Linked DNA regions of Homo sapiens: regions 1, 2, 3, 4 and 5 are each linked to region 6. The links are contacts of gene promoters, found by promoter capture Hi-C in blood cells and fetal thymus (Javierre and others, 2016). All regions are on one chromosome and are shown on one strand. Each heading gives the region's core, a stretch centred on a gene start or on the middle of the fragment in contact. The rest is flanking DNA. Distances are from core to core; before and after follow the strand shown. Region 1 overlaps GABPA (GA binding protein transcription factor subunit alpha). Region 2 holds the start of MIR155HG (MIR155 host gene). Region 3 overlaps MRPL39 (mitochondrial ribosomal protein L39). Region 4 overlaps JAM2 (junctional adhesion molecule 2). Region 5 overlaps APP (amyloid beta precursor protein). Region 6 holds the start of RWDD2B (RWD domain containing 2B).

Region 1 (3,542 bases), core at 623-3,122, 3.3 Mb after region 6:
AGTAAGAACATCCAGAACTGAAGGCTACAATTATCAAGATCAGGGCTGTCCAACAGAAATACAATGCAGACCATTATGTAATTTTAAATTTTCTAATAGTTACATTTAAAAAGTTGGTCAAATACATCTTAATAATGAATTTATTTTAACTTAATGTTCCAAATGTTATTTCAACTGGTAATTAATATAAAAAATTAGAAAAGATTTTATACTTTTTCTTTTAATGGGTATTTTTACATTTACAACCCATCTTAATTTTGACCAGAGACACTTCAAGTGCTGACGTGTGATTAGTGGCTACAGTACTGGGCAGCGGAGGGACAGACTGAAATTCTACATTAGCTGTCTGGTTCCATAGCTCTCTTTCAGTTCCATGGGTAAGCTCTCTCATTTACTGTGTATCTTTTAGGTTTGGTTTAAAGAAAGAAAAAAAATGTCCTAGGGAAAACAGTGGTTCTACAATACAGCCTTTCTGTCATCAGCCCTGCTCCCCAGGTACAACCTTGTCTCTAAAAATAAAAAATAAAAAAAGGACAAAAACCCGACAATACTGTTTCATTTACAAATACACTCAGGTCCCCGCCAACTCTTGGAAGATCAGTATTATTTATTTGTTACCCCAGCATTCTTCCTCATCTGCCCCCATTTCTAAGATATCTATTTCTTATAATTCTGTTTTGTCTCGCCAACTCTAGTTACTTCTGTCTAAATTTAAGAATAATCCTCTGATCATCAAATTTAATAGATATCAGTCAGCATTCTTTGACTTTCTCAGCAGCATCTGAGAGTCTTGACCATCCAAACTCTCCCCTCAATTTCAGTGACACTATACATATAAGTTATTACTTTCTTTCTGTCTCTTCAGTTATTTCTTGTCTCCCTTTTCTCCAACCCTAAATGTTTACAGGGTCAAGTGTATATGCCTTTAGTTGTGTGTTCTTTTCCATTTCTCGCTTTCCATCAGGGACTACGTAGACTTTTATAGCTTCAAATATAAATTCAGTGGGAATGAGTCTCATATAACATCTTTGTCTCCAGCCCAAATCTTATATAACTGAAACCATTTTCTGGCTAACCTCCAGCTGAATATAAACTTCCACATCAAAATCAAGTGCTATCCACCTTCTCTTGAAAAAAACATTTCCTATACCAGACTTCTCTACTTCCCCAACTGGGCTTTTGAAAGCATGCTCTTCATAGTGCACCATCTTAATTAAGCCCAGCATTTAACATGGTGCCTGGTGTACGGTAGTGTTCACTAAATATGTAATGATGATGGAACCAATTTTTATCAAGATTATTACTGTTTTAGTCACCAAGATGAAGCTTGAGAAGTTAGATCAATACTTGTATCTTCCCTCTCTACCCTCATAAAATCTGTCAATCTGCTCAGTCCTATCACTGTTTTCATCCACTTTTTCCTTGCTACTCCCAAAGAAATCATCTGGAGTCTGGGCTAATGTAGACATTATCATCCAGTCACAACTATAATAATATGCTCCTGTTTTCCCTTCACTTAGTCTCTACCTGTTCCAACTTATGCCATATATTGCCACCATATTCATTTTTCAATTATCATTTTCATCAATCAAAAACAGTTCTGTAATGCTACAGAGTAACTCCTTAACCACTCCATTTTCTCACTACTCATGCATACCCCCAGGTCTAAGCTTTGCACATAACATTTCCTGTCTTAAATGTCTTTCTCTGCCCAATGGTATCTTATTTATAATAAACTCTTTTCAGCTTTCCCTCAGGGCAACTATGATCTCTTTGAGATTCCAATAGCATACTTCTACAAGAGTTACTGGCAGTTTAAAAACATGTTACCTTTTATGGCAATCATCTCTTTTCATCTATCTTCTCTCTCTTCAACTACACTCTCAACACCCTAAGAGCAGAAATTTTTTAGACTTCTTTGTATTTCCTGCACGCAGGACAGAATTTGTCCACCACATGAGCTTAAATGTGCGTTACAATTAAAAGAGAGATACAGAAAATCAACATTCATCCTAATAACTCTACATGTAAAATAGATTATAACTTACCCTAGTGTCTTCTATGTCAAGCTTAATTCCTATTATTCTACCCAATATAGAATTATGCATTTTATTACCATAGGGTATCCCAAGGCGTTCTTGTTCTTTCCTATAGCCTTCCAGTGCAGCAGCCCATCTTGTCACTTGTTCTGAAGTTTCATCTGAAATGGTTGTGATGTGTTTTGTGCCATCAAGAGTTATCACTTGAGCTTCTTCAACAAGATGTGCTTCTGATTCAGCATGGTGGGCATCTGGATCAATAACAACCTCAACAGTGTCCGCAGGTTTAACAATTTCAAGGATGTTTAACTTTGGTTCAATTCCTGAACAGTGGATAAAAAAAAATTGTAAATCTAAATGAAAACGCAGAAGTCACCAAAAAATAATTTAGTTTATATGTTCCCAAATGGTAGAGAAAAACTACATCGAATAAAGCAAATGTAGTAAAAGTTAACATTTGGGGAATCTGGGTGAAGGATATTCAAGAATTCTTTTACTAGTCTTGCAACTTTTCTACAAGTTTAAAATAATTTTATAAAAAATAAGACACACACACAAACCCTACCTATAAACATCATTAGAAAAAAAGAAGTACCAGTTCTTACCACAATAAAATAAATAGATAAATAAAAATAAAAATTACCAATACGAAACAATAAAAATTAGACTAGGCAGAGTATAAATGAGCAGCTACCTATCCTTGGAATTTTAAAAAATCCTTCTAAGCAAATTAAAATTATTATTTACTGACTCAGTTTTTCTTTTTAAAGGACAAAGTAGATGTGTTAAAAATTATGCCAAATTTACTAAATTAAATTAACCATTAAATTCTAAATTTCATTTTAAATGAGATGAAGAAAAACCCAAATCCTGAATATTTTAAGCTCCTAGTATAAAGGTGTTAAGAACTGTAATTCCTATGGAAAAAATAAAAAATAAAAATAAATAATTTATTAATACAAAGGCTCCTCAACTATCCAGAATTAAATCAAAATTCTGATTTTGATTTAATTCTGGATAGTTTAAAACACATTTAAACTATTAAATTATAATTTGATTATACCTAATTAAATTATAATTAAGCCAAGAAATTATGCCATAAAAACAGTTATTTCATTATGTGTGCAGTACTCTCTATAAGATATACTTTTATTTATCTATTCAAAATGGAATTAGCCCTTTACGAAATAACCTCAGACTAAAATGACAGCTCTAAGACACTGTCATATTACATAACTGCTTCTGTTTCTTACTGAATCTATTACAATCTATATCAAAATTCAATCAAAGTACAGCTTAAAGAAAAAGCACAACTCAACTTCGATCTTCTGTGAAAACCAGTATTGCAAGAAACTACTACTATCATTCTCAGGTAGTTTAAAGAGAATCATTTTTCAAATATACATGATAAAAACAATCAGAATCAAAAATATTTTTTGTTAAAATCTATTTCCTAATCCTTCATCTAGATTTCATACTTTAATGGCTTTAAGCGAACTCTTC
Region 2 (3,765 bases), core at 883-3,382, 3.5 Mb after region 6:
CTAGGGCTTTTTGGGGTAGATTTTTTGATTTATAGAGGACTGGTAAGATGAGGTATTTAAAGATGAGGGTTACAAATTTTCCATGTTGGCATATGGAAAGTAAAGAATGGCAAAATTTGTAGCACATTCTAATTAGTTCAAATATCTATGTTACCAAAATTGAAATGATATCAAATTGCACAGCAATGTCCTGATGGCCTTTCCTCTAACTTTCTGGGTTTGTAAGGGTAGGGTTGTGCCTATCCTGCTCACCTTTGTCTCTCCAGTGTCTAGCATAGCGTCCAGCACAGGCAGACTATGATGCCTGTTTTTTTTTTGTTGTTGTTTTTTTTTTTTTTTTTTTGGTAAAGACCAGTGAATTACACTTTTTACACATGACTAGGTTAAAACAAAAGTAGACATTTGTGCAAACACCACTGTTCTCCCTTGAAGTGGTTGTAGGTCTCAGACAGTGCTAATTTTTCTCTTTCTTAATGTGTGTGGTTAGGAAGCTGGGTCCTGTGGCCAGAGTGAGCTGACCCACTATGTGAGGAAACTTACTTATCACAGCCTAATAAGGAGTAGTCCTTGCAGCAGAAGTAATTACTAAATGTGCTTTGGTCATTTGACAGAAATCAGGGAGGCAGCAAGGAGTCATGGAAATGAGCCCAAACTGAGAGTCAAAACCCTGTGGTCTGCCGACACCCCCATCCCACATCCGTACCTAAAAGCAGGCTGTGCACTAGGGACCTAGTGACCTTACTAGAAAAAACTCAAATTCTCTGAGCCACAAGTCCTCATGGGCAAAATGTAGATACCACCACCTAACCCTGCCAATTTCCTATCATTGTGACTATCAAATTAAACCACAGGCAGGAAGTTGCCTTGAAAACTTTTTATAGTGTATATTACTGTTCACATAGATAAGCAATTAACTTTACATATACCCGTTTTTAAAAGATCAGTCCTGTGATTAAAAGTCTGGCTGCCCTAATTCACTTCGATTATACATTAGGTTAAAGCCATATAAAAGAGGCACTACGTCTTCGGAGAGATGAATGGATATTACAAGCAGTAATTTTGGCTTTGGAATATACACATAATGTCCACTTGACCTCATCTATTTGACACAAAATGTAAACTAAATTATGAGCATCATTAGATACCTTGGCCTTTTCAAATCACACAGGGTCCTAGATCTGCTGTGTGATGCTGGAAAAGTAACTTCACTTCTGTGGGCCTCAGCTCCTTAATTTTTAACATACTTTGGATTCTTATATCTTTGTCAGCTGTCAACTTCAGTGTTTTCAGGTTAAATTCTATCCATAGTCATCCCAATATACCTGCTTTAGATGATACAAACTTCAAAAGATCCGGCTCTCCCTCGTAAAACGTGGAGGACAGACATCAAGGGGGTTTTGTGAGTAAAGAAAGGCAACCGCTCGGCAAAAACGCACCCTGGCACAACAGGAGCGAATAAATACAGACGCTGATTGAGCGTTTGCTCCATCTTCACTTCTGTTAAATGAAGACATTGATATCTAAAATGCTATGAGTCTAACTTTGTAAAATTAAAATAGATTTGTAGTTATTTTTCAAAATGAAATCGAAAAGATACAAGTTTTGAAGGCAGTCTCTTTTTCCACCCTGCCCCTCTAGTGTGTTTTACACACTTCTCTGGCCACTCCAACAGGGAAGCTGGTCCAGGGCCATTATACAGGTACGTCCCCAACCATCCAAGGAAACTTTGCAAAGAAGCTCAAGTATTAGGTTTCGAACACCCCTCCTTCCCCCTGCCTCTGCCCGCGGGAATCCATCCAGCGCAATCTCTGGTCCCGGGCGAGGCGACACCACTGAGTCCCCAGGGGGCACCCGCAGGCGCGCGCGGGACCAGGCCGGGCTCCACGGCCACGTGCGCGCTGCCCCCGCCTTGCCTCGCCAGTTAACCCGGCGGTGACCCTCGCACCGAAGTCCCCCGGCGTCCCTGCCACGTTCAAGAGAGGAAAGGCGGGCGGGAGCGCGAGACTGAAGTCGGCGTACCTGCAGTGCCAGGAGCGTCTCCTTGGTTCCCCGCGCTTGCTCTGCGGGCGGCTCGGGGCTCCGCTATCCGCTCCCTTCCCGAGGCTGCAGGCGGCGCTGGGCCCGGGCTCGGCCGCGCACAGGAAGCCCGCGCCTGCGAACGTGCGACCCTTTTATAACTCACTTGTGACTCATAACCGACCAGGCGCCTTTTCTGCAACCCCCCCCCCCTTCTCCCCCCTCCTGCCTGTTCTTGGAACCTACAGCTTGAAAAACTTTTTTCTTTTTAAAGGAAAAGTCGAAAAAGCCCAGCGCCCGGGTAGTTGGTGTTTTCCCCTTTCCCTTTCTCGTGGGTCATTGCGTGTGTGTATTTTTTTTCTCTCAACACACGCCGTGTACTTTCCTGCACCGCGCCGCAAGGCTTGGGCTCCAACCTTTGTTCTTAAAGAAAAGGAAACGCCTTCAAATGACGGCCCAGACGTCGCCCGAACTTTCAGTCGGCTGGAGGGGGAAGTGGCGACTTCTTGCAACTGGGTGGCAGGAGTGTCTCTACTCTCTCCTTGCAGGGAGCCCGAGAGGAGCAAGTGGGAGGTTTTTCCTCCTGGACCGAATCAGCTGGAGACCAGCAGGTCCCTAAGAGAGGAAGAAATGGTCTTCAGGCGATCCTGGATTTCATCCCTACCTCATCACCCTTCAAGAGCCCGCGTTTGGTTTGGAATACGTAACTGGGCTTTGAGAACGTTTGTACTGTGTCTGGTACCCGCATTTATACTCGGGATGTCAAGATATAGGACTTAAAACTTCAAAAATTTTGACCTCAACAACATTCTCCCCCTGCCCTCCACTCCCATCTCCAGGACATATTCCTGGAGCATATGGGACTTCGGTCGTTTTAATTTTTGGTTTTGTCGCTTCTCTCTTTTCTCCCGGACCCTGCCACAAGGGGAACATTTTCCTGGAGCAGCCATTTGATTTTGGGGGATGGAAAGGAACAAATAGATCTAAAGCCTGGCAAGTTTATCCTACAAGCCTAGTCGAGTAACTCATTCATGGGTCTCAGTTCAATAAACGTTTAGACTTGAAGAAGAATAAGGAAATATGGGGAAGAGAAGGAGGACAGGAATAGATCTAGCCTCATCAACATGTGACTGGGGCCTTTTTGTAAGAAAGACGGGGCCACTGCTGGATTGCATTGCAAGTATCCAGTACTTGGACCTCCCTGTCAAGGGCACAAGACATTTTAGAATAGTTTGTATTAAACTGATGCCAGTTACATGTCAGAATACATGTCAGAGCTGGAAATCCCATAGTACTTAATTTACAGATGGCTCAGGTTGGTTAAGGAACTTGGGAGCATTTTAAAACCCTCTATTCTTAAGATACATGCTTTTTCTCTTATAATTCAAACAAGAATAATCATGATGATAACAACTAACACTTATAAAGCATTTACCATGTGCCAGATCCTGTCCTAACACTCCTTATATGCATTAACTCTTTCAGTCCTCACTATGATCATATGAGGGAGGAGCATTATAATCTCTATTTCCAGATGAGGAAACTGAGCACAGAGAGATTAAACATGTTACCTTAGATCCTAGTAAGTAGTCAAGCTGAGATTCAAACTCAGTTCCAACCCTGGAGGGCTGGCTCCGTAGTCCAGTCTCCCTGCTTTCCAGATCCATGTGACGTTGAGGAGCTGGGGAAGTTGTGCAGTGGGGCATGTGGCAAGGATGCATGGTCCCCACCCAGGTGGGGCACGTCCCT
Region 3 (3,676 bases), core at 77-2,576, 3.4 Mb after region 6:
AACTCAAGCTTGTCCAACTCACAGCCCATGGGCTGCATGCAGTCCAGGACGGCTTTGAATGAGACACAAATTTGTAAACTTTCTTAAAACATTATGAGGTTTTCTTGCGATTTTTTTTTTTTTTTAGCTCATTAGCTGTCATTAGCGTTAGTATATTTTATGTGTGGTCCAGGACAATTCTTCTTCCAGTGTGGCCCAGGGAAGCCAAAAGATTGGATACCCCTGGTTTCCTTAGTTGTTTAAGGTAATCCTTGATTCTCTTTTCCCCTCATAGCCATGCCCCAGCCCATCCATCCGCAAGTCCTTTCAACTTTTAACTCTGAAACATATTCTGAATCTATGCACCTTATAACATCTCATCTACTACTACTTCCCTTATCCAAGTTCCTCTTTGTTTTCACTCACCTTCCTTGCTTTCACTCTTGCCATCTACAGTGCATTTTCCACTTAGTAGCCAAAGTGATCTTTTTAATACACAATCTGTTATGTACTTCCTCTGCCCCAAACTTTCCAATGGCTTCCCTTGAACAAATCCCAACTCTTTACCCTGTCTCACAAAGCCCTGCATTATCTGGTCCCTGCCTGCTTCTCTGACTTTATCTAACACCACTCCTTTCCTCACTCACTATATTCCAGCCACAGCTTAAGGTCTCTGCACCAGCAGTTCATTCCGCCTGAGTCAGGCATGGTTTTCCCTTTAAACATACCAGTCAGCTCTTTCCCTGGAAGGGTTTGTATGTTGATATTTATTAATTTTACCTTTTATTATAGATTTTATGAGCTCATTCAGTGTGGAGTAGTCACTGGCCTGCCCATATGTCTTGTTACCACTTTCAGTTGACCTAATAAAATTGATGTGGTCATGATACACTTTGCACAGTTTTCTTTAATGCATTCTGATAATCCTCTGCTACAGGAGGTTGTTATGGACTAAGGAAATTGAGTTTAAATTTTACTATTGTCTTGGGAGGCTGAGGCAGGAGAATTGCTTGAACCTGGGAGGCGGAGGTTGCAGTGAGCTGAGATCGCACCACTGCACTCCAGCCTGGGCGACAGAGTGAAACTCCATTTCAAAAAAAAAAAAAATTTACTATTGTCTTTGTTAGGTTTTACTTATTCTTTAGGGTAACTTGATGAATCCTCTGCTTCTGCCATTTCAGTGTGAAGATGTCACAGTTGGTTTTTAATGACTGTCTTCTTGTGATTGCTTATGATTTGAAGAATGACTTCTAGAATGTTGAAACTGGCTGTTTAAGGATTGAACCACAGTCTATGGGAAAGTAGGGCAGATTTTTGCTTCCTATTAGAAGAAATGCTTTCTATGATGGAAATGATTAAGATGGGCAAAAGTGAAAGAAGGGCACGTTCAATCCTTAAGCGTTTTTTTCTTAAATGCTCACTGCAACCTCTGCCTCCCGGGTTCATGCGATTGAAGAAAGCAAAAAAGCAGCTATCCCCATGTAGCACCTTTTTTTGCTACTATGATCCACTTTTATAACCACTTATCTAAATTAGTACTGCCTAGCTTTTTATTTATTTTGTTCTAAAAGCTATATAAAGACTCTGTCCTTTTTACTTTGACATTACTGCTTCATTTAGTTCATCGCAAATCTTTTCTTTTCAAGGCACATTTTACAATATGGGATAAGCTATTGGAAAGATCTCGGAAAATGGTAAGTGTTTTTGACAGCTATTGAGTACTCTTCTATAAAGAAATTCATCAAAATTAACCAATAACAACCAAAGGGGGGAAAAATGAAAGAAACAAAGAGAAAGGAAAAAAGTAAGTTGTCTCAATAGTCAAAGCAGTGTTGTGATTGTTCACTAGTGTGTTGGTAAGGGTAAAGTTGTAACTTGGCAGTTCTCTTTTGATTTTATTTGTTAATATCGTGAAAATGATATTGTAGAACTTGAAGAGAAATAAGAATATTACTATGTAATAGTAATAGTTCTTAATAGTTGTAATGGTATCAGTTAGGTCTTAGGATTTATTTTGTAAACTTAATGAATATTTAGAGGATTAAGATTTGTCAGGTGTATTTTAAAGCCGCCTTTAGCCATTAACAGTAAATGTGCAAATATCCTAATGTCCTGAAAAACCAGATTTGAATGTTTGTGTTTTTGTAGTTTATTCTTTGTCATTAGCATTTAGACTTAATGAGTAGGAATGATAGTATTTCTTTTCTTTTTTTTTTTGAGACAGAGTCTTGTTCTGTCTCCCAGGCTGGAGTGCAGTGGCGCGATCTCAGCTCACTGCAACCTCCACCTCCCGGGCTCAAGCGATTCTCGTGCCTCAGCCTCCCAAGTAGCTGGGACTATGGGTGCCCACCACTACGTCCAACTAATTTTTTTGTATTTTTAGTAGAGACAGGGTTTTACCGTGTTAGCCAGGATGGTCTCGATCTCCTGACCTCGTGATCCACCCCCCTCAGCCTCCCAAGGTGCTGGGATTACAGGCGTGAGCCACCGCGCCCGGCCCGGGTGATTGTATTTCTTGACCACAACTATTCCTGTTTCCTATTTCATAGGCTAAGTGTGCCTCTTTTACTTAGGTTATCTGATAGCTGTCCTGTGTAATCTGTCCTCATTAGGACTTCCTCCTTATCCTAATTTCCCACAATGCCACAAACACTGGTTAAGCTTGCAGGCACATTAAGCATCACACATTAAACTTATTTTCAAGTTTGCTTATTTCTTCATGATAGTTTTTCTTTCTAGACTCCATTTCCCATTCTCCTTCTATTTACTACGCAGTCATTCTTCACTACCTCGCCTGAGTCGTACCTCCTCCATGGAACAGTCTCAGAGTAATCTCTAACAAATAATTATTCATATAAGTTTGTGCTTGATTGTATATGTCCACATACTATTTTTTGATTGTTTTCTTTGCCAGTACATTTATTTTCTGTCTGTTAAGCCTTTCAGGATTTGTTATATTTGTGTAAGCCCAAATTTTGAACACAACATTAGCACATGAAGGGGTTACCCAAGAAATATTTATTGACAATTTTTCATAATGATATATAAACCTAGTCTTTATTAATGACTATGTAGATAGGAATTATTGTTTAGGGACTTCACCATAATGTTCTTGAGTAAGGGTTATATAATTTTTTTTCTCATGAGAAGAAATTACCTTTGAATGGATGGAGTAATTTTCTCTTTTTAGTTGGTCACAGTGATCATTTTAGATGAAGAAACTAAAGAAAAAATGTTCAGCATGTTTACTTGGAGTTAAGTAAAATTAAAAAAAATTTAAAAAGCTAAAGAATATTAAAGAAATAGTTTGGAAAATTAAAGAAGCAGTAGTAACTGAACACTTTAAAGGAATGAAAAATGTAGAAAAACGGCAGAGACAGTGTCTTACCTAGAATATCTAGTGATGTTAGTCAATACATATTTTTTCAAACATTTATTCTGGTTTAGTTGCTTTTTTCTACTGTCCATTTTGCTTTTCTGAAGGGATTAGATTAAACGTGGTTCATTGATGCAACACAGACTTACTGATTGTTTATTGTGTGCCAGGTACTGTTATGGTCTGGAGGTACAAAAAAATGCACAAAATTTACTTGCTGCCTCAGGGAAGTAATGTTGATTGGATAATTAGACTTATAAGCAGACAGTTCAGGTGTACATGTGGGGCTCTGGCATAAAGAAGAGGACTCAGACCAAGCTG
Region 4 (3,558 bases), core at 152-2,651, 3.3 Mb after region 6:
GTAAACAAATATTGAAAGTATCACAAATGAAAGCTTTTAGTTTACCTTGAATTTCTTAACCAACTGTTAACACTAAAAGTGTTCCAAAAAGAGAAAACAAAAGATGAAAAATTAAATTTTAAAATTTGAAAGTTGGAAAAATATTTGAAGAGCTTCTTAAGAACTGTGTGGAAATTCATGTCTAATTGCTAAAAGACTGGTATGAGAAAAATAGTTTCCATCCAGCCTTCATTCATGGAACAACTTTGTAACTTCACATATTAGATAACTATTATAATTACATATTTCAGAATACAATCATTTATTAATATTTGAACTAAATTTATGGGGAAATTTTATAGTTAAATACTAAATTTGCTCTTTGACAAGTGTTCCTTTGATTTTTAAAAATTCATTTATCACATTAAATACCAACCACGTTAGATGCTGTTAAATTCTTTGGGTCTTATAAAGTTGTGTAAAACATGGTTCTTTTCTCAAAATGCTTCCAGATTGGTAGGGGTGTCAAACATGTTCATTCCTATTATGGGGTAGAAACCAGTAAGTGAATCAAGGGTTACGGAAATTCAGAGAAGAAAGAGTTTCCAGCAGGGGAAATGAGAGAAGGCTGTCCTAGAGGGGGTGGAATTTGACCTGTCTCTTAATAAGTAGATAGAATATACAAGTCTTGTGGTTAGGAGAATTAACATTCCAGGTGGATAGGGTGTTATAGGTAAGTGTATAGAGGAGGGGGAAATGGGTTAAGATAAAATGACCATAGCTCAGTTTAATGGGTACATGAGGCAACCGAAGAAGTTAGTAGAACATATAGCTGAATACGTAGGCTGTGGCAATATGATGGGATATGTCTGTGATGGGTGGGAAACCTTGAATTCCAGGCTGAGGAGTTTAGATTTTGTGATAGACTAGGTAAAGGAAGAGTGAAAGGGTTTAGCCAGGGGAAAGGAGAAGGGAGTTGACATGGTTCGAGAGAAATGGGGCAAATTGATGGATGGGGTGGGGGGAAGAAGAGATTAGAGGGAAAAGGAGCCTTTGGAACTGGAGAGATTGACGTTGTGACTGAGAGGGTACTGGAGGGTGGAAGTTCCCGGAGATAAACGTTGAGATGCTATTGAAAGCCTGAGATAAAAGGATGAAAGTAGTGACTGAAGAATCAAATAAGACAATGAATGATGTAGTCAGTGAATAAATGGGAGGCTAAAGATGGAGAGATTTAGAGATAGGAGGGGGCAGTGGTGGTGATAGGATTTAAATGCATTCATCCTGGTTAGCCTCAATATTTTTCAAAATAATATTAGAGATTTGGGCATCTTCGGAGAATGAGAGGAGAGTGGAAGAGAATGAAATGGCCCACTGTGATATTTAGACTGGGTTAGGGGAAAGGCATGACAAAAAGGTATTTTGTCTGGCAGTGAGACCAGGAAGGCGATGAGGGGCCAGAGATAACTGGGGGTGAAAGGAAAGTGTGACAGAGAAGCGCACAAGAATTTAAAAGGACTGGGCTCGGCTGGGCACAGTGGCTCACGCCTGTAATCCCAGCACTTTGGGAGGCCGAGGTGGGCAGATCACAAGGTCAAGAGATCGAGACCATCCTAGCCAACTTGGTGAAACCCCATCTCTACTAAAACCACAAAAATTAGCTAAGCATGGTGGAGCGCGCCTATAGTCCCAGCTACTCGGGAGGCTGAGGCAGGAGAATTGCTTGAACCCTTGAGGTTGCAATGAGCTGAGATCGCGCCACTGCACTCCAGCCTGACGACAGAGCGAGACTCCGTCTCAAAAAATAAATAAATACATAAAATTTAAAAATAAATAGATAAATAAAAGGACCGGGCTTAGGCCTATAGTAATGCCAGCAGTTTCGGAGGCCGAAGAGGGAGGAGCGCTTGAGTCAAGGAGTTTGAGACCAGCCTGGCGACGTGGCAAGACCCCCCTTCTACAAAAATATAATAAATAATTAACTGGGCATGGCACACACCTGTGGTGTCACCTATTTGGGAGGCTGAGCTGGGGGAATCACTTGAGCCTGGAAAGTCAAAGCTGCAGTAAGCCGTGATCGCGGCACTGAACTCCAGCCTGGGTGACAGAGCAAAACCCCATCTCAACAATAACAGCAAAGAATTTAAAAGGAAGTCAGCCTGGGGGTAGAGAAAAACATGGTGTGTGAAACATCCTGGATCAGACTGATCTGGGTCCCCACAGACCCTGATTCCTCACTCCTCAGCTCCATGAACTTGACAAGTCAGTAACTCTTGTTTCCTCATCTGCAAAATGATGACATTACCCACTTTATAGTATCGCTGAGATGAATGAGATTTTCTACATCCTCACCCCCATCCATCCCCACCTCTGACATATATAAAGTGTTCAATAAATAGTTGTTGCTTTTTATTTTCAGAGCATTTTTCTCAGCATTTGAGAAGTTGGCAGCCATCCAGAGATGATGACATTCTAATCTTAAGCAGCTAACCAGCAGCTAGCCTTGTAGCTACAGAAGGTAAGAGGGTGTAGTTTCCTGGGTTTTATGAATAACAATAGGTGGATGACTCTTTCCCTGCACTGTTATATGGGGCTAAAAAGTTTAACAAGTTCAGCTATTTTTATTAGTGTAGACTTTAATCGAACAAAGCCACCTGTGGAAAAAGGAAGTTCTTTGCAAAGTTGTATTGAAAAGCAATCAATTGGTCCAGACTTAGGTCAAACCTCCAACTAAAAATAAATTAAATCTAGTTACAACAGCAACAATAATTAAAACAAAACAAAGCTTGCTAATAAGATTTTAAAGCCCTAATCTTTACACAACACAATTCACTGCAGGAAAATAAAGTCAAAATGCTGTAAGAATTACAATGGGATTTTACCAGTTGTTAGTGTTCAAGTTCCTCAAGTAAACACAAATGCAAATACAAGTCTGGACACCAGTGACCCACAGATACATATATATACTTTTAATAGGAAATTAGTGCTCAATACTCTGCCCTTTGTGTGGGGGAAAACATTCTTTTATACAAGGATTTTTACCTAGCTATTACAATAGTTTAAGGTAATGTACAATATATATTTGACACAGAGAGTGTTATTAGATGTTCGCACTGCATAAAATGAATCCTCTAGCCTTTGATGTCTTAAAAAGAAGTTTTACAACTATTAGTGAAGCTAAGGCACTACATATTTTCCTTCCACAATATGGATTTGTGTCATTTAAACTGAAGAAGTTGATCTTGTGTGATGACAGGTATGTCTGAAGAGGCGTCTTTCAGAGTCATCTATCCTCTTGGCATGCCAATGCAAGAGGAAAGCATTCCTCAAACCAAAGAAATCTTCCAACCAAAACATAGGTAACATTTAGCCTGATTTCTTACAAAAGCTTGTAGACAGGTGTTTTTTTCTGTACTTCACCACCATGAGTTGGGAATCTATGCCTGTGGGCCAAATCTTGTCTGTGCCTGCTGTTTTTGTAAATAAAGTCTTATTGGAACACAGACATGACTACTTGCTTGTTTTGTCTGTGGCTGCCTTTGTGCTACAATGGCAGAGTCAAGTAGTTGTTAACAGGGA
Region 5 (3,752 bases), core at 376-2,875, 3.1 Mb after region 6:
TTAGAAGGCAGACCTGCAAAAAGGTGACTCACAGTACGTTCACATGACCGGATGCATTAGTGGAACCTCTAACCCATCGCCAATGGAAGAAGCAGTGTTTTGCACAAACTTGAAAAAGAGTTTTTCATTTTCCTCCCACAGCCTCGTCACGTGTTCAATATGCTAAAGAAGTATGTCCGCGCAGAACAGAAGGACAGACAGCACACCCTAAAGCATTTCGAGCATGTGCGCATGGTGGATCCCAAGAAAGCCGCTCAGATCCGGTCCCAGGTAAGCGTGGGGTATAATCATCTTCTGCAGCTTTGACAATCCAGGATTCTTGCTTCTTGGGTTGGTGACAGGATCCCACGCATTCTCCGAGCACCTATAGGTGTTTTCCCTATGGCAAGAGCTCTTTAACTTCTGGTAAATTCTAAAAGCTTGTCTTAGAGCAATATGTGGTTTGGCATTTTCTGAGTTATGAAAATAACAAATGTAAAAATCTTAGTCTACTGCTAACTGATTGCTAAGGAACTGATTAAAACCAATGACTAAAATGAGAAAAACAAAAGTTGTATAAACTAAAATCTTGAAAACTGGTTCAACTGAAGTATGGCAGGCAATCATAAACCTACTGGAATGTTGAGATTTCATGTGAGCCTAAATGAAGCCCAGTAATAATGTATTTTATACTCCCCGGTTCCCAAAGGCTGAAAACTGGGATCTACCTTAGGAAATGTGAAATTTTACATTTTCTTGAATGAAAGAGTTAAATATATATAGCATGAAATAGCCAATCAAATTGAAATACGTTGTTTTCTAGGGGGAAATTTGCAAAGAAATGTATTTAGGCATGAGGGTCCTGTTAAGAGAGCCTCAGTATTAGGAATCAGAGGTGGCAGAGGTAGCCTTTTTAATTGGCTGTTATAAGCATACAAGATAATGGTAAGTTTCAAGATCAAGTCTTAAACCTGAGCTCAAAAAGTTAGAGAACAGAAATAGGAGAACAAGAAAAATAAAGTTGCCCTTTCAGTTCAACCTTTTTAACAGTAGCAGTGTTTTGTCAGTTTTCTTTTGGAAGTTTGTATCTACCTGCAGTGCTTGGTAAGAAAAATAACCTGGGCGACAGAGCGAGACTCCGTCTCAAAAAAAAAAGAAAAAAAGAAAGAAAAAGAACCATTCCTACCCCCAGACATTGTTGACCTGGAGTTGTCATCCTTTGATGCAGGTTATGACACACCTCCGTGTGATTTATGAGCGCATGAATCAGTCTCTCTCCCTGCTCTACAACGTGCCTGCAGTGGCCGAGGAGATTCAGGATGAAGTTGGTAAGTAAGCTGTTCTTTTGATGCTGCACATGGACATGTATTTTCCCCCAGAGGAAAATTGAGGAAGTGAGTTATCTGTTTGAGGAATATGGAAGTTAATAGAACAGCTTGCCTTTTACGATGAAACTGTCAGGCTGGAACTAGCTTACTAGCCTTAGCAATTGAATCAGTTCTTACCTCTCCATACTTGTAAGACTGGAGGAATGTCGCCTGACTTAGGGTATAGTTTTGTAATAATTGGACACTTGTTATTGAATTATACGTGGCAGCATTTTTTCTAATTTGCCCAATCTTGTTATGGCTCTCAAATTATGATGCTTTGGTACTTTACAATTAATGGGGAAAAAAACTCATTCTTCATCTTTTGAGTGTCACGATTGTTCCATCTTACAAATGAAAAAGCTCAAACTTAAAATTTGAGTAACTTACTGGCCTGTGTCACATGCATTATAAGTAGCACAGCCAAAACACATAACTGTGACTTGTGACTTTGAGGTTATTGTTATATTCAGTAAGTCACAATTCTCTTTGATGGCTGAGCAGGGAAGCCATGAGTGTTCTCTGAACCACATCATTGTTTAAACTTAAAAGATAGTGGGCTATTAAACTTATATTCTGAAATAATTGTACTCTCACAAGAACTTGGAAAAATAGTACAGAGAGGTCTCATGCATCCATCACCCACATGCCTCACCAGTGACATCTTACGTAACTATAGTCCATTATCAAAACCAGGAAACTGACCTTGTGTGCCCACTGTCTTTTATGTCCCTAGTTTTCCTAATGACTAATGATTTCATTTAAGATCTCTCATTTCTGTTTCTCTTGGAAAGAGAATAAAATACCACATGAGTCTCTGTCAGCTGCCAAAATGCCCATAACTGTTTAACTTACTTCACAAAGGTACATAGATGACGATTATGTTGGTGCATCTTTCAATATAAGCATATGTACCTATACTGGAGATTTAGTGTGTAGTCTACCAACATATAAGCAATATGTATCTGGCATATCCTTCCCCATAAAGAATCCTACCCTTTGTTAATTGGGTTGGAAATAGATACAGGTTATCATCTGGAATCAGAGCACCCAGGATGTTGTAGATGGATGTACCCATTACAGTAAGTCCGACTTTGAAGTGCCTGAAACACCGCTCAAGGGAACAGCTGGCCCTCACTTTTTCCCATTTTATGCCAGTGTTATTCTGCTCATTCTTTCCTGATTTATGTGGCCTTGTAAATATTGTTTGTATTGCTGTGAAATATTTGGCATGTGTCAAGTGATGATGTTCTGTTCAGTACTGCACATTAATGGACGGAATCTGAAATTATACTTTGAGCTACATAACTTGCAGAAGAAACTTCATATGTCAGGGAGGTGCAGTGTCCCAGAACTTTGGGAGGCCAAGGTGAGCAGATCACCTGAGGCCAGGAGTTCGAAACCAGCCTGGCCAACATGGTGAAACCCCCTCTCTAATTTAAAAAAGAAGAGAAAAAAAGCAACTTCATAGTGTGCCAAGCTTTTGTTCAGAAGGAGCAACTCAGTGTTGAGCAAGAATTTATGAAGATAGTGGAGGTGGAGTTTTTAGTCTACACCATGAATTGAGAACAGAGATCTCCAATTAATTTTTCACTGTATCAAGTTTCTTTAGCAAACAAATATACTTTTCAGGTATACTTGGAGAATAGACATCAGTAAGGAACCTTTAAAATACTATGTATTAAATAAGTGTAAAGAAGTTCTCCAAAAAGTTGTAGAAGGTACAAAATGAAATAATTTATCAGTCTTAATGAACTGAAGCTAAAATCTTCTAGAAAACATGGTTTGTTTGTTTGTTTGTTTGTTTTTTACAGCTATCTTAAGCCTGTTTTCACATGTGACTTCAGTTGAAGTGGCATAGGTAATAACTATAGGGAAATAAGCCATTACAAAGGACTAAAAAGTTGATGACCAATATTCCACCCTCACCCAGCAATTATTGTTGACTCTTTATAATTAAATTATTAGAACTTTTTATTTGGCACTATACTACTGAAAACATTAGCCACTAATTAGTCACACTTCCACAGAACAGATGGTGGTTCAGATATCTTGAATATTACGAAATGCCCAAGAATAGGGCAGCACAATAAACTTCAAATCTCAGTACCAGGGAGGATATTTAGATAACTAGTATCATGGAATCTTTTTCTGTAAAAAGAAAAAAAAAAACAGCCATTAGGTTGGATTAAGAACATATTAGGGGGTGCAGCACACCAACATGGCACATGTATACATATGTAACAGACCTGCACGTTGTGCACATGTACCCTCAAACTTAAAGTATAATAAAAATAAAGAACATATTACGTATGTGCTCTTAATGTGTGTGTGTGTGTGTGTGTGTGTGTGTGTGTGTATGTATGTAATATGCTCTCAATCCACCCATTAGTTGGGTTTTTTTAA
Region 6 (3,644 bases), core at 678-3,177:
GACAGCCCAGGTTTCTATCAAAACAAGAATGGAACTGGTATATTCATATGATGGAATACTACTGAGCAATCAAAAGAAAGTGATACACATGATATCAGATGAAAATATTACCCTGAGTGAAAGAACCCTTACACAAAAATATCTATTGCATGACTCCAACCATATGACGTTCTATAACAAGAAAAATAAGTATGGTGGGGGAAAAAATCAGAACAGTGGTTACCTTTGGGGAGAACTGGTTGGGAACTAAGAAAGGGCATGAAAGAACTTTCTAGGGTGATGGTAACGTTCTATATGTTAATATGGCTTGAGTTCCATAGGCGTGTGCATTTAAAAACTGATGTGTATTTAAGGTATGCATTTCATTTTTACCTTAAAAAATCCTTAATTTGAACTCCAATGATGTGCATTAGAGGTACTTAGAAGCGTACTGTCTGCAGTTTACTTTTAAATGTATGAAAACAGATAGATTGATGAGGTATGTGACAAAGCTGGTAGAGTAAAATTCTGTACTCTCCAGGTCAGTGTTTTTCAACCTCAACACTATCAACATTTTGGACCAGCAAATTTGTTGTTGTCGGGGGATGTCCTGTTCATTGTAGGAAGTTGAGGAACATCCCTGTGCTCTACCTACCCCATGCCAATACCATCCTTCCAGTTGTGACAACCCAAAATGTCTTCAGACACTGCTAAATAGAGGGGAAATCCATCCTTCCCCTTCTCTTGAGGTCTGCTCCACTGTAAAATTCTCTCGACTTCGCTTTACACTTGAATTTTTTCATAATAAATGTTGGAGGAAAAAATAAATTATGACATTGAAAAACGCTCATGAAACACTATGCAGAAGACGTAGTTTATGAAGACCTACAATACATACTGTCGTATTTTTGTTTAAAAAAAAAAAGTGGAGGGGAGACCTAGCAGTGATATTTAGTATTGCTAAATGTCAATGTTTACAAATCTTATCTATGACATTTCTAAAATGAATATTATAAAGTGTATTGCATATAGTTGGATTGGGAAGAAAAACATTTCTAATTATTCTCCTGTCAGCATCTCCTTCAAACTACCCTTTTATTAACAGGGATAGATATGCATTCACACGGTTCCTCCCAGCTTGGTTAATGGGCAAGAACACCTAAGATAGCCAAGGCCACCATGCATCCAGGCTCACATCTCCCTAATTGCCCTCCTCCATGATTCAGGGACAAGGAGGATCACCATCGTGTGGGAAGATACTAGAAATGTAGAATTTGGAACCCCACCCCTACCTACGGAATCCTGATCTGCACTTCAACAGGATCCCCGAACTATTCCTAGGCGCGTTCGAATTTGAGGAACATTAACGGACCAATTCTTTGTCCCTGAAAAGTGCCCGTTATAGAGGCGGCCGCTGGGAAATGACAACGGGGTTGGCATGGAGAGGTATTAAGTAGAAAAACTCCGGCCGGGCACGGTGGCTCAGGCCTGTAATCCCAGCACTGTGGGAGGCCGAGGCCGGTGGATCACCTGAGGTCAGGAGTTCGAGACCAGCCTGGCCAACATGGTGAAACCCCATTTCTACTGAAAAATACAAAAATTATCTGGGCATGGTGGTGGGCGCCTGTAATCCCAGCTACTCGGGAGGCTGAGGCAGGAGAATCGCTTGAACCCAGGAGGCGGAGGCTGCAGTGAGCCGAGATCGCGCCACTGCACTCCAGCTTGAGAGACACAGCGAGACTCCGTCTCAAAAAAAAAAAAAAGGAAGAAAGAAAGAAGAAGAAGAGAACTCTGCGACTGAAAAGTACCTAGCAGGGACAACGCATTCCCTACGTCCTTCCAAGTGCAGACACCAACACCGGCGGACGCGGCTCCCAACAGGCGAGCCCCAGCTTCCGGTCCGCGGCCTTGGACGCGCATGCGCCGCATGCTTTTTTTTTTTTTTTCCGGTAGGTCGCCAGCTGAGGCGGTTTGTAAGTTTTGGGTCGCAGTATGCTAGAATTTTGAGGCTCCCTTCTGATGAAAATTGAGCTGTCCATGCAGCCATGGAACCCGGGTTACAGCAGTGAGGGGGCCACGGCTCAAGGTGAGTCTCGCCTCAGCTAGCGCCAGTGGTGACCGCCACGGGGGTTTCCCACGCTGCAGCGCCCAGTGCAACCCTTTGGGAACGTGCCCGGCATGGCGGCCCCGGTTCCCCTCACTGCATGCGCCCATCGGTCGGCTCGGTCCTCGGCGTTGCTTCCCGGCTTCTGCAGCCCTGCTCCAGCCGGGGACCTCGCCCCGGGGGCAATCAGGGTGCGAGGGCGGCTGCGTGCTGGGCTTTCTTCCTGAGAGCGTCTTGGCTTGGGTCGCGGGGTACCCTGCTCTGTTCTTCAAAAAAAAATCTGCAAGGAAAAGATATTATTCCACTCAGAAATCTCAAGTTTCAGTCTGCGTTCTCTTAAATATATTTTATTTTTTAAAAAAATAATAAAGGCGAGCTCTTACTATGTTACCCAGGCTGATCTTGAACTCCTGGGCTCAAGCAGTCCCCCTTCCTCTGCCTCCCAAAGTGCTGGGATTACAGGCGTGAGCAATCGCGCCCGGCCACAGTCTATTATCTTACAGCATTCGCTGAAATCTTGAATCATAAAATTATCTTGAGGGTTTTTTGGAAGGACTGAAATCTCTTAAGCGAAAATAATTTGGCAGATAAATGACCTGTGACATCACTCCCGTAGTTGTCCGTTCAAGAGTCCCTCCGTCCCGTTCTTCTTTGCTAATCCCATTTCATCTTCGATACCTCCAATTCAATAGCACCCTCTCCCAACTTTACTCACTCCCTGGGAGACTTTAAACAAATATATAGTTCCAAATAAGTGTTGACTCCCAAGATTATATATCTAGCTGAGTCTCTCGTAGACTTCAAAACTATACATCTAACTGCCTGCTAGACCTCTCTATTTAACAGGTGTCTTAGTAGGCACTTCATTACTTGTGTCTAAAACCAAGCTTCAGCTCCCCATGACCATCAACGTCTAAATAAATGGCAGATCCATACTTTCAGTACCTTAAAGCCCCGGAGTCATTCTTCCGTGTCTCATGTAATTCATCTGTAAATCCTGTTGCCTCTGTTCTCTGCATGTATCCAGAACCTGAAGCTCACCAACTTGACCACTATAATCCTATCAAAGCCACCATCATCTCTCCCTAGTTATTGCGGTGTCTATATCTGGTCACCCCACTTTTCCTTTCACTTTTCTCCATAGCAGCAAGTGTGGGGATCTTCATAAGTCAAACCTCTCTTGTAGCTCTTACATGTCAGTCGGGATAAAATTCAAAATTCTGGCCATGCTTTACTAGTCCCAACATAAACTGCCCCACATTTCCTTACTAAACTCTTCTATTCCCCGTGTCCTCAGCTCACTGTGCTCTGGCCAGCTGTTCTAGCACCCTCCTTCCTCAAGGCCTTTGAATATGCTGTTCGCTTTCCCTTGAACACTCTTGGCCAAGAAAAACACATGGCCTCCTTTTTCAGTTCCTTAAAGTCTCTTCCCTACAGTCACCTTAGGAGAAAGGCCTTTCCTGACAATGCTGTGTGCAGTCTCACCCCTGCTGCCTCATTGTTTCCCTTATCCTTGTTTTCTTTTTCAGGTTTCTTCATAGCAGTTATTCACTGGGTACAA

What was found. The method cuts DNA at HindIII sites, captures the fragments that hold promoters and counts their contacts. A CHiCAGO score of 5 or more calls a contact.
Region 1: a fragment that was not itself captured here is called in contact with the fragment with the promoter of RWDD2B in region 6 in 7 of 17 cell types (total CD4 T cells, total B cells, fetal thymus and 4 more); the score reaches 12.9 in total CD4 T cells.
Region 2: the fragment with the promoter of MIR155HG here is called in contact with the fragment with the promoter of RWDD2B in region 6 in 9 of 17 cell types (non-activated CD4 T cells, activated CD4 T cells, total CD4 T cells and 6 more); the score reaches 11.0 in non-activated CD4 T cells.
Region 3: a fragment that was not itself captured here is called in contact with the fragment with the promoter of RWDD2B in region 6 in 4 of 17 cell types (total CD4 T cells, activated CD4 T cells, naive CD8 T cells and 1 more); the score reaches 8.9 in total CD4 T cells.
Region 4: a fragment that was not itself captured here is called in contact with the fragment with the promoter of RWDD2B in region 6 in 5 of 17 cell types (naive CD8 T cells, total CD8 T cells, non-activated CD4 T cells and 2 more); the score reaches 13.4 in naive CD8 T cells.
Region 5: a fragment that was not itself captured here is called in contact with the fragment with the promoter of RWDD2B in region 6 in 1 of 17 cell types (M0 macrophages); the score reaches 5.2 in M0 macrophages.

Annotation. Positions count from the first base shown.
Region 1 is chr21:25,750,809-25,754,350 of GRCh38, reverse strand. It overlaps GABPA (GA binding protein transcription factor subunit alpha), which reads right to left. Exons shown (of 10, transcript NM_002040.4): 5 at 2,117-2,362. Among named protein-coding and RNA genes, the nearest start is that of GABPA, 18 kb to the right of the region's middle. The HindIII fragment of the contact is 399 bases long and covers 1,673-2,071 here.
Region 2 is chr21:25,560,512-25,564,276 of GRCh38, reverse strand. It overlaps MIR155HG (MIR155 host gene), which reads right to left and starts at 2,132. Exons shown (of 3, transcript NR_001458.3): 1 at 2,020-2,132. RefSeq lists silencers at 1,788-2,067, 2,078-2,167 and an enhancer at 2,548-2,597. The HindIII fragment of the contact is 13,141 bases long and covers 1-3,765 here.
Region 3 is chr21:25,586,832-25,590,507 of GRCh38, reverse strand. It overlaps MRPL39 (mitochondrial ribosomal protein L39), which reads left to right. Exons shown (of 10, transcript NM_017446.4): 9 at 1,626-1,673. Among named protein-coding and RNA genes, the nearest start is that of LINC00515, 5.4 kb to the right of the region's middle. The HindIII fragment of the contact is 2,632 bases long and covers 11-2,642 here.
Region 4 is chr21:25,716,600-25,720,157 of GRCh38, reverse strand. It overlaps JAM2 (junctional adhesion molecule 2), which reads right to left. Exons shown (of 10, transcript NM_021219.4): 10 at 2,596-3,558. LOC124905002 (a long non-coding RNA gene) reads left to right here. Exons shown (of 2, transcript XR_007067827.1): 1 at 1-2,497. Among named protein-coding and RNA genes, the nearest start is that of ATP5PF, 17 kb to the left of the region's middle. The HindIII fragment of the contact is 2,731 bases long and covers 36-2,766 here.
Region 5 is chr21:25,952,145-25,955,896 of GRCh38, reverse strand. APP (amyloid beta precursor protein) reads left to right here. Exons shown (of 18, transcript NM_000484.4): 12 at 142-270; 13 at 1,208-1,307. Among named protein-coding and RNA genes, the nearest start is that of APP, 220 kb to the left of the region's middle. RefSeq lists an enhancer at 34-1,233. The HindIII fragment of the contact is 2,407 bases long and covers 422-2,828 here.
Region 6 is chr21:29,017,632-29,021,275 of GRCh38, reverse strand. RWDD2B (RWD domain containing 2B) reads left to right here and starts at 1,927. Exons shown (of 5, transcript NM_016940.3): 1 at 1,927-2,065. The coding sequence starts at 1,999. It overlaps LOC124905005 (a long non-coding RNA gene), which reads right to left. Exons shown (of 2, transcript XR_007067836.1): 1 at 3,029-3,644; 2 at 1-2,363. RefSeq lists an enhancer at 1,837-2,086. The HindIII fragment of the contact is 4,408 bases long and covers 1-2,972 here.